3 separate regions of the Homo sapiens genome follow, and all the other regions are linked to region 3. The links are contacts of gene promoters, found by promoter capture Hi-C in human tissues and cell types (Jung and others, 2019). All regions are on one chromosome and are shown on one strand. Each heading gives the region's core, a stretch centred on a gene start or on the middle of the fragment in contact. The rest is flanking DNA. Distances are from core to core; before and after follow the strand shown.

Region 1 (3,747 bases), core at 293-2,792, 1.5 Mb after region 3:
AACAGCAGCAGGGTAATTTCTGCCTAATTTTTGTGGAATTGAGCTGTTTAAATGTTTACTTGATGATGGAATGTGTCTCAAAAAGCTACATATCAGCAGCGGGGCCAGGGTTGGGGCTGGGGTGCAGCCCAAATGTTTGTGAGATTCTGAGAACACCAAGACAGACAGTAATATCTGTCCAAGGGAATAATGCCCTTTGCAAACATTAACAGTGTGAGATTTTTACGTTTTTCAATGATTTTTTAAACATCAAAGTTGAGCGAATGACTGCAGTTTTTCATGTAAGAAAAAACTATTTATCATAAATATGTAAAATAAGTATAAATGAGAAAATAAAAGAAAAAGAAGAGTGTTGAACTATAAACACTGCCAGCACAAACATAAAAGAATGCGAGACAGAAGATATCACAGTGGAAAAATTAAAATTGGCTTCGGCTGTAGCGAGCAACATAATTGACATTGTAGAAAATGAAATCACTAATAAAGTAGACAGTTCTCTAAAAACACCAAGAAAATATATAATAACAATAATAAGAGATGCTATAGAGGAGAGAAAACAAAAAGTCAAAATATATAAATCATTAGCTTCCACTGGGAATAAATCAAAGCAATTGAAGCTAATCATTATTTAGAGGAGAATACTTTGCATAGTTAAAAACAAACAAGAAAACATAACGGCAACAAAAGACATTACTTGAATATACGGGTCAAAAGTGTTCACTAAGTGCCACGCAAAATTAAAAACAAAGTAACTTAGAATAAAACTGGCAAAATTGTTGAATTTCAAGTTTTAAAGAAAAAAATTGACAACCACATGGGCAAAACGTAAAAAATTTACACTGTTTCCAATTCTACTTAACTCAGAGTGCCAGAATATGATGTCATAATGAGATAAAGTTTTGAGAGAAAAATATGTCATCTAAGGATATTTTAACCGAGTACAACCTAATTTATGTGCTGGTATAACACTGACCTCCCTGCTCAGATATGCAGAATTTAGAACATAAACTGCCCATGGATACTTGCTTTGAAACTTTTACTTAGAAGATGTCCATCAGCAGGCTAAGAGATGGATAGTATTTTAAAATTAATGAATGAGATATGTGAATCTGAAATTACTGTGGTACTTCCTGTTATAGTTTTAAAATATATTTGTTTAACATGCTAAGAGCTACCTTGAAAGGTCATTGGGACTTTTTAGAGTAAAAAAAAAAATTAAAAATAAAAAAAGACCAAAAAGCAGGGATGTTCACAATGAAAGAAATAAGTTGTTTGTCTATATACTAATAGCATACGGATATCATAATATAAGTAACAATATAATTCTAATGTCTAGTAGATATAAAATTTGCTATATGATCATGAATATCTTACAAACATTACATAAACAGATGTAATATTGCTAAATAATTTTGGATTAATTGGCCTTTTGGAAAATAATTCTTAAATTGGATCCTTATCTTACACTTTAACTTAATGTAAATTTAAGGTAACATAAGGAATAAAATTTACCAAATAAAAATTTTTGTAGAAAATATGAAAAAATAAGTGGTGATGTTTCTAATCCTGGAGCAGTAAGAGAACTTTTAAGCATAAACATAGCAAAATTCACAAAGTACAAAATTAAATTTTGAAGTGTTTCTCGGAAAATCCTATGAAATTTTCTCTTACCATAATCAATAAGTAGATATGCAGAAGAGTTTTCATTAATAAGACAAATTATAAGCCATAAATATTTTAACCAATGACCATGTATCATCTCTGCTTAAACATGTTGTTACAACTGTTTATCAATAGCATTATTTTTTAAAAGATGCTAACAAATATTAAATAATATATAGCTTCCACTTATTATAAACTCCATATATCCCAGCACTGTATTTAAAATCTTACTTAAGTAATCCAGTTTGGCATTTGCAACAAATCTCTGGGGTGAGAGTTATCCATCTTTTTACAGATGAATAAACTAAAGCTGAGGAATAAGTTGCATGACAAACTAACTTGTAGGAGTTGAAGCAGGAATTGAACTCAGGCCTGAGGACAGACTCTGAGTGCTTAAGTCACTACATGCTTCTTTCTCAGTGTTAATCATATGTAATGTAAGGAAAGGATTACATCTGTTTTGTTCTTAGCTATATCCCCTTAGCTTAGCAGAAGGCACAGCTTACAGTAAGCACTCACTGAACAATTGTTGAATGCATGAATATATTTAAAGAAGATATTATACTAGAAACTGAGAGATGGGAGGCTAAAATCAAAATTATTACTTCAAGGAAGTTTTCAGTAGGGGGTTTCTGGTAAGATATGGAAATGTGGAATAGAAATAACTATAATACAAAGCAGCTTTTTTCAAGTGCAATACAGTATTCACAAATGCAGTGTTACCATTTCAAAGGAAGAGAGTCCATTACCAAAACAAGGTAAGAGGATTCCTCATACTAACTCTGTTATCATGATTTAGCTTTGAAAATAGGCAATATGGTGTTCTTGGGTGCTTTTTCATACACCCAAGATCAAGTATTCTTAGTCACCTAGGACATGATAGCATTATTAAAATTTCTACTTATGGAAAAGATTAATTAATCTAGAACAATCTATCTTAATAGTAAAATCAACGTGTTAGGAGAGATGTGCGTGGGGATACATTCACTAAAAATTAAGTAGTTTTGAAGATGTGATGGCTGCCCTATATGATGTCAATACAGGAGAAACATTGGTATAATCTTAAGCTTGTTATCCTGTACAGTAAGATAAATTCTAATACTGCAGTACTTAACTATGACAATAAATTAGATTCTTGTAGATATAAAGTTAGGAAGTGGTTATACAGGACGCTTTAATAGTGTGTGTTAAGGCAAATAATAAGAAAGAATGATTGGAGGAAAATACCACACAAATAGTGCACAAGCAACTTACTCCGTGCTTTTCTTACATTGAACTTTTTATTAAACTAGATTTCTTTGCCGCTCCATGAGGCTTACTGTGTTTCTTTGCTCCTCTTCCATATTAGGTAATATCCCCGTTACACTGAAAACAAAAATATTGCTTATATGTTTAAAATATAGAATCTAAAATTTGTTCATCTAGCAAGGCGCAGTGACTCACGCCTGTAATCCCAGCACTTTGAGAGGCTGAGACGGGTGGATCACGTGAGGTAGAGTTCAAGACCAGCCTGACTAACATGGAGAAACTCCATCTCTACTAAAAATATAAAAATTACCGGGTGTGGTGGCGGGTGACTGTAATCCCAGCTATAGGGAGGCTGAGGCAGGAGAATCACTTGAACCCCAGAGGTGGAGGTTGCAGTGAGCCGAGATCACACCACTGCACTCCAGCCTGGGCAACAGAGCAAGACTCCATCTTAAAATAAATAAATAAATAAATAAACAAACAAACAAACAAATAAATAAATAAATAAAATTCTTCATCTAAAGTTATTAAATTGGGTGATTTCTATTTAGAAAGAGTCTATACATTTGTCTGCAAGTTATTAGGTATCTGGAATTCCTGTTTTGGGGTTTTTTGTTTGTTTGTTTGTTTTTTGAGACGGAGTTTCGCTCTGTCACCCAGGCTGGAGTGTAGTGGCACGATCTCGTGGAATTCCTGTTTTTGCTTTCATGTTGCTAGGATTTTAGTCTCATTCTATTTGGTTTATGCATAAGAACTCAGATTGAAAAAAATAGTCTTATGTCATAATTTCTTTGAATAGTACAACATTCTTCTTTGCAACTCTTCTGTCTCCAGTCT
Region 2 (3,729 bases), core at 828-3,327, 1.6 Mb after region 3:
CATTGGAGTGTTTCTTTTTCTTTTTCTTTCTTTCTTTTTTTTTTTTTTTTTTTTGAGATGTAGTCTTGCTCTGTTCCCCAGGCTGGAGTGCAGTGGCACGATCTCGGCTCACTGCAAACTCTGCTTCCCAGGTCACACCATTCTCCTGCCTCAGCCTCCCGAGTAGCTGGGACTACAGGCGCCCGCCAACACACCCGGCTAATTTCTTGTATTTTTAGTAGGGATGTGGTTTCACCCTGTTAGCCAGGATGGTCTCCATCTCCTGACCTCGTGATCCACCCTCCTTGGCCTCCCAAAGTGCTGGGATTGCAGGTGTGAGTCACTGCACCCAGCTGACATTGGAGCATTTCTTAGCTTTCCCCTGAGTTAATAATGAGTCAGTTGGGGAATATTGTACCAACTCGTGCTATTTCTTTGGGACATTTTCCATTCAGGAGAACTGTAAAGCAACAGAATAAAAATAGCAACTAAAATGATGGCCACAGGTGATTTAGATGGTGATAGAGGGTAATCCGAGTGGCCTAGACCTGAAAAATAGACATAGGTTTTAGGGAGCCTCTGGATTTTTTTTTTCTTTTCTTTTTTTCCTTTTTCGCACAATTGTATTTGTGTATCAGAAAGACTGCTCTGGAAGGAATATGAAGAATTAGCTAAAGGAGGAGAGAGTTTATTGTGTAGGCATGATAAGACACGTGTCTGACCTCAAGCAGCAGAGTGGGCTAGAGAAGAATATTATATTGACAAGTGAGATAGAGTTCATAGGATGTGATAATTGATTGGATATAAGAAGGCACGTGGAAAAATGGAGAATTCATATTGCATGACCTTCTCATTGGGGGAACTAGGTAAATGGTAGCAGCACTCACGCACACAAAAATAAGGAGATAACCCATCTAGCACAAGCATTTCCATCTTAAGGTTTCCTTTCACATTCAGTCATTCATTTAACTGGACCCCAAACATACTCCAATTGTCAATCAACTTGGTATTTGACTGGTTCTATCTGATTAACTGTCTTCATTTGATTAAGTTCTTGTCTCTCCAACATTTCGTCTTACAAAATAATTCTCGATTGTGACCTCTGCATTTCTCAGATATGTGGCTTTGCATCATTTTTTCTCATTTTCTTCACTTTTCCCCTTAATTAATTAAAATTTGATTACTATCTCCTGTTGTTATGTCTGCTTCCCTTGATAAACATTTCCCTCCATGTTGGACATAATGTTGCTAAGAGGGACCAACGCAGAGGAGAACAAGTTTTGTTTTGTATTAGCATGGGCATTTGAGACAATTTCAAACCCACATGGAGGCCCAGCACGGTGGCTCATGCCTGTAATCCCAGCTACTTGGGAGGCTGAGGCAGGAGAATCCCTTGAACCCTGGAGGCTGAGGTTGCAATGAGCCGAGATCACACCACTGAACTCCAGCCTGGGCAACAAGAGCGAAACTCCATCTAAAAAAAGAAAAAAAAATCACATGGAGTTGTGTCCTTCAATTCAATGATCATTAAACTAGCTCCCTCTTACATACAGTGCCCCGGGCTGAAACATGACACAATAATGAACACGACAGAGTCTCCTCTGATAGATCATGGTCTTTTTGAGGCTACAGCTACATAAACTGATCATTTCAATGTAACAGGTCCAGACTATGTAGTATTGGAAAATTGGTGGGGAGGAGAGAAGGCATTCTAGAGACAGCAGAGAGAAGAGATTGGATGACACTTCCAGGGAAGATGTCCCTACTTTGAGAGTTGCAAGATTACGTAGGAATTGGTCAGAGATGTGGCTAAAAGGAACATAAATTTAAGAGAGTTTGATTTAAGGATGAGAGATACTTACAGAGGTGTGGCACAGGAGGAAGCAGAGGAAATTGATGGAGTACGGTTGCAGAGGAGACAGAAGGAAAAGAAACACGAAAACAGATTAACTTGGTAGAGAAGTAAGAACACATTGTACCAAGATGAACAGAGTTCAGAATAAGTGGAGAAGCCAAAGCATGTATGTGGGGGGGGAGGCAGATTTTAGGAGAGTTTCCTTAATTATAGTTTTTATATTCTCTTTGAGATTGTTCATCCTCAATAATGGGGAGGGGTTTGGAGCATTTCTAACACAAGGGAAGATCGCTGGCTAAGAGGAAGAGGGGTAGATGGTTAGGTCCTTTGAGGAGGAGAGGTCTGGGTTGTCATCAGTGATAGGGAAAATGGCAGTTATCGAGGCAGGACATAAAACAAAACTGTTGAGCTCTAGCATGACCTTCCCCCAAACGCCATGCCTCATTGATTAGCGGTGGCACAAATTGGAAGGCTGAGTGATTTCCTTGAAAAAGGGTCAGCTGTTTAAAGGTGGGAATAGAAATCACAGATAGTTTGATTTACCCATAGTTAGAGGATTGCATAAAATATAAAAAGATAAGGAGAAAAGGAATCAAGCACTTAAAAATAAAGCGGGAATCGAGATATTGGAGCTATATACTAGGGACTTGATCATAAGAGCAAGGAAAAGTCCATTTTCTACTGTTTTTGCACAGAAACAAAATAGGTCTAGGAGGGTTAATTCATTGATTACTCCTCTAAGAAGCTAAATAATAACAACTAAAGTATCCTCTGGATGTTACAGGATAGCTCTTAGAAACTGTCAGAATTAAATATACAGGCAGAAATTGTCTCTTCAGTAATGTTTTAACTCTGAGGAAGCTGGAACCAGGGTAAGTCCTCTGACTTAGAGTTCAGAGAATTAATTACATCAGAAAACAAGCAAATAAAACAGAGATATGATAATAGAAATGCTTGTTATTTTGACTATTATTAAAGGTATTTGACTATTATTAATGTTATTTGTGAGCATCTCTTATCATTGCAATTAATTTCTGAAGGCAGATTTTTGCCTGATTCATTTTGGAAATGTAAATTGTACAAAAATGGCTCACAAAATAAATGTCTTATAAAAATGTTCAACAAACTATTCTTCAAATAAATAATTAATGACTCATTCATTTATTAAAGTAATAGGAGCCACGAAATATGTTCAATGAAATATTCCTGAATGTTGTTGATTATCCATCAAGACATTCTTGAACAAATACAGGCATAAATGAATGAAGAAATATTTGGCATATGCATCATTTATAAGCTATTCAGTTCTTCTAGAATTAGAACTACTTGTTATTTGTTTGCTTTCTTTTAAAACCAGATAATAAATTATATGTGTATTTTCCAAGTTTGATTATCATGACACTTTTGGATAAAAAATTATAATAAACATATTTTTACACGGAACACACATATATCAGGCAATTACTAAACTGGACATTGCCATTTCCCAAAGAAACAACAGTGCTATGCTTCTCTGAATACAGGTGTACTTAATAGGAACAGACTAGAGACCTTACTGATTTATAAAGAATAATTAACTTTGACATCTAAGCATTGGTTAGATTATGAAAGTTAATCTCTATTTTTTATGATTTAGAATGTAGTTATGTATGGTGGGTGGTACAGGTAGCTCCTCGCAAATAATATTCCAGGCTAGTTAGATAAATTTAGAGAATCAAAGGATGTAGATTAAAATGTGTATATTGACACAATTATCCTCACAGGATACTGCTGAGGGGAGAGGCACTTCTCCAGGAAGCCCTCTGGAAAGTTAATGGATCCAATCTTCTGGATTCTAATTCATTAGGTAAAAATATTTAGGACAAGGAGAGTAAAACGAAGGACTGAGTGCTTAG
Region 3 (3,510 bases), core at 337-2,836:
TTGAGACCAAGTCTTGCCCTGTTGCCCAGGTGGAATGCAGTGGCGTGATCTCAGCTCACTCTAACCTCCGCCTCCCCAGTTCAAGCAATTCTCATGCCTCAGCCTCCCAAGTAGCTGGGATTACAGGCGCATGCCACCACACCTGGCTAATTTTTGTATTTTTAGTAGAGACGGGGTTGCACTATGTTGGCCAGGCTGGTCTCAAACTCCTGACCTCAGGTCATCCACCCGCCTCAGTCTCCCAAAGTGCTGGGATTACAAGTGTGAGCCACCGCGCCCAGCTGCCATTGGGTCTTAATTCTCCAGAAACAGTATCTCAGTCAAGAATGCAAAGCTGTGGCAGGATTTTTCCATGAGGGGTCCACTGAGGCACTCACTGGCCAAGGTGGGCGCTCAACTAGTCCAACCTAGGCAAGGGAGGGGAGAATCTGTTTTCTCCCTTCCATTATTTCAGAAGTTATGTTTCTCCAGCAGACACACGGCTGTGCAATTTCGAAGACTGAGGGGAAACTAGGGAGGAAAATGCAGAAAACTCTCTGTTGCATGCCCTGTGAATTGGGCTTTAAATGTAGCAAGGAGCTCCAGGATCCCAGAAGTTGGCCTGGGGTGCTTGGTCCTGAGGATAAGACAACCTCCCTTGTATTGTAATTCTGCCCACAGCTGGAGCTTCCTATTTCAGTGTTGCATCCAAGAAGTTACATTTCCTGTTTGTTGCAAGAAAAATAGAATCTGACCAGGATGGAGGCTAGGCATGGGGGCTCACATCTGGAATCCCAGCAGTTTCGGAGGCTGAGGCAAGCAGATAGCTTGAGCCCAGGTGTTCAAGACCAGGATGAGCAACATGATGAAATCCCATCTCTACAAAAAATAGCCAGGCAGTGTAGTGCACACCTGTAGTCCAGCTACTCTGGAGGCTGAGGTGGGCAGATTGCTTGAGCCGGGGGAAGTTGAGGCTGCAATGAGCTTTGATCTCACCACTGCACTCCAATTCTGAGACTGGGGAGTATTGATTTGCCACTGACCTGAGCCCGGCTGATAGGGGCAGCAGGACAGACACTGTTACCTTAATCAAAGACATTCACGAAGCATTCTCACTGAAGATCTGCCCTAGTATCCTGCACAGCCACTTGCCTGGGTCTTTATAGGTAACAGGTAGACAGTCATCAAAGAGATAGGGGAAAACATGCACAATGAATTCTTTGCTCAGAAAAACCCTTCTGTGTCTTCTCCCACTTTTTCTAAATTTTTCCTGCTTTCATTTAGATCAAAGGATTTTGTTTCTTGGAATAGTTCTGCACTTGGTCCTTTAGAAAGGATGACAATTATCTGTAGGTCTCTCTGATTTTAAGATCAATAGAAATCAGCAAAAGCCAAAAAATAAAAAATAAAAATAAAATAAAAGCACACAAGCACATTCAAGCACATCCATCTGCCCCTGACTTGTCCTCACAGTAAGCAACTGCTTCTGACTTTGCTGTTTGAATAACCTCTGGGTGTTCGATCCACCCACACAGCTCAAGTTTGAGCTCCAGAACAAATATTTGTCCCAATTTTGAACAAAGTTAGAGAGTTTTTTCTTCTTTTTTCTTCTTTCTTAAAGCGAACTGTACTCCTCTGCTGTTCCTTTGAACTTGGTTCAGTAGGAAGAAGTGATATCCTCCCCAGACCATCTGCTTTGGGGAGCTTGGCAAAACTGTCCAGCAAAATGAAAAGACTCACGTGCTTTTTCATCTGCTTCTTTCTTTCTGAAGTATCAGGCTTCGAAATCCCCATAAATGGACTTTCTGAAGTAAGTACTTACAGATCACTCCTTGCTGTTGGCTTGTTCATGAGCTCAGTAAATCATCTATTGGAATCGCTATTCAATGGCCTTATTCTGTGTGTAATGGAAACTTAAGATAAAATTCATCTGAGTGCAAGTGTTTACTGTTATAATTACTGGAATGTATATTTACCTTTTAAAGCATTAACAGGTTTTGCATGAAAATTAAGTCAAGATCAATGGGCAGGCATCAGAGCGTAGCATTTATGGAGCAGAGCTGCTCACTCCTCACCTAAAAAATTGGGGGTAAGAATAGACCTAACCCAATGGTTTGCTTTGAGAATTAAATGACACAGTGTAAACTCTTCTAGCAGAGCGCCTGGACTAGTAAGTGCTTAATAATTACTAGCTGTTATGATGATGAAGAAATATTATCACTCTTTTACTAAGAGTATAAGAAAAGTCATTATCAAAGCACACTGTTTTTCATATCTAAGTGAACAGTGATATTTGTAATAAGAGCACTTTAAGTATTCCTATTAAAGCGGAAGATAGCAGGCAGGGTGGAAAAGTACAAGAATAATTCCCATGGAGTACAGGTCTCCACTTTTGTCCCTTAGCCATCTCCAATGTAAGGAAAGTCTTGGACTGAAAGTCTGTTTCTGAAAGTCATACAAGAGCTATTTTTATGCCAGAAAAGCGAAGCATGTTATGGGAACATCCCAGCAAATGCAAAGGCTTATAATACTTGCAGAGTGGATTACCTATAAAAATGCCAGAGAATATGACGGCATATTTACAAAGGGAAAATATCACTCTGTCTGCTTTGAAACTATCATATTTTCCAACACTTAAAAGCCACCAGAGTGTGTTAGAAATCTCAAATTGAAGCCAAGACATCCAAATGTGTTTGTGCTTTTTCAGTCATTTCTAACTGGCATTTCCTTTTAGAAAATACCTACATTTTTAACTTGGGGAGATGTATGGTTCATGTCTGTCCAGTCAGACACTGCAAATGCCTCCAGGGTCTACCCAGATACTTCCCCAGACACCCACCTAATCACTGGGTTGTTTTGATCTCTGTCTTACCACCTGCTGGCAAACTCAAAAATGAATTCCCATGTCCAACAAATGCGAAGGTGTTGTTACCCTCCATTTGGACACCTCTGAGACGTAACCAGCAAATAGAAATATACTAAAGAAATCATTTTATACAAAATTGTGATTGCCCAGAGGTAGAGGAAAGAATATAAAATAATGAATACCAACAGCTATCTCTTTGGCTCTAGATCTTTTGGAAATCATCATTCTCAGCAAAGTAACACAAGAAGGGAAAACCCAACACCGCATGTTCTCACTCATAAGTGGGAGTCGAACAACGAGAACACATGGACACAGGAAGGGGAACATCACACACTGGGGCCTGTCAGGGGGTGGGGGGCTAGGGGAGGGATAGCATTAGGAGAAATACCTGACGTAAATGATGAGTTAATGGGTGTAGCAAACCAACATGGCACATGTATACCTATGTAACAAATCTGCACGTTGTGCACATGTACCCCAGAACTTACAGTATAATTAAAAAAAAAAAAGTTAAAATCCTAATTTTTTTTAAGTTTGTAGACTATGAAGATCTTGTGGAACTGGCCCCAGGCAAATTTCAATTGGTGGCAGAGAACCGGAGATATCAGGTATAGTAAGGTTTACTCCCAAAAGGGGGAAAAAAAGTGAAAGAGATTATGGCAGAA

What was found. The method cuts DNA at HindIII sites, captures the fragments that hold promoters and counts their contacts. A contact is called where the count stands out against the background at its distance.
Region 1: a contact is called between a fragment that was not itself captured here and the fragment with the promoter of ITIH2 in region 3, in 2 of the 25 tissues and cell types used here (lymphoblastoid cells and mesenchymal stem cells).
Region 2: a fragment that was not itself captured here is called in contact with the fragment with the promoter of ITIH2 in region 3 in 2 of the 25 tissues and cell types used here (dorsolateral prefrontal cortex and lymphoblastoid cells).

The regions. Positions count from the first base shown.
Region 1 is chr10:9,201,764-9,205,510 of GRCh38, forward strand. The region is part of intron 4 of LOC101928272 (a long non-coding RNA gene); the gene reads right to left. Among named protein-coding and RNA genes, the nearest start is that of LINC00709, 72 kb to the right of the region's middle. The HindIII fragment of the contact is 6,922 bases long and covers 1-3,747 here.
Region 2 is chr10:9,254,951-9,258,679 of GRCh38, forward strand. All of the region lies in intron 4 of LOC101928272 (a long non-coding RNA gene), which reads right to left. Among named protein-coding and RNA genes, the nearest start is that of LINC00709, 19 kb to the right of the region's middle. The HindIII fragment of the contact is 8,100 bases long and covers 1-3,729 here.
Region 3 is chr10:7,701,730-7,705,239 of GRCh38, forward strand. ITIH2 (inter-alpha-trypsin inhibitor heavy chain 2) reads left to right here and starts at 1,587. Exons shown (of 21, transcript NM_002216.3): 1 at 1,587-1,789; 2 at 3,379-3,453. The coding sequence starts at 1,706. The HindIII fragment of the contact is 26,123 bases long and covers 1-3,510 here.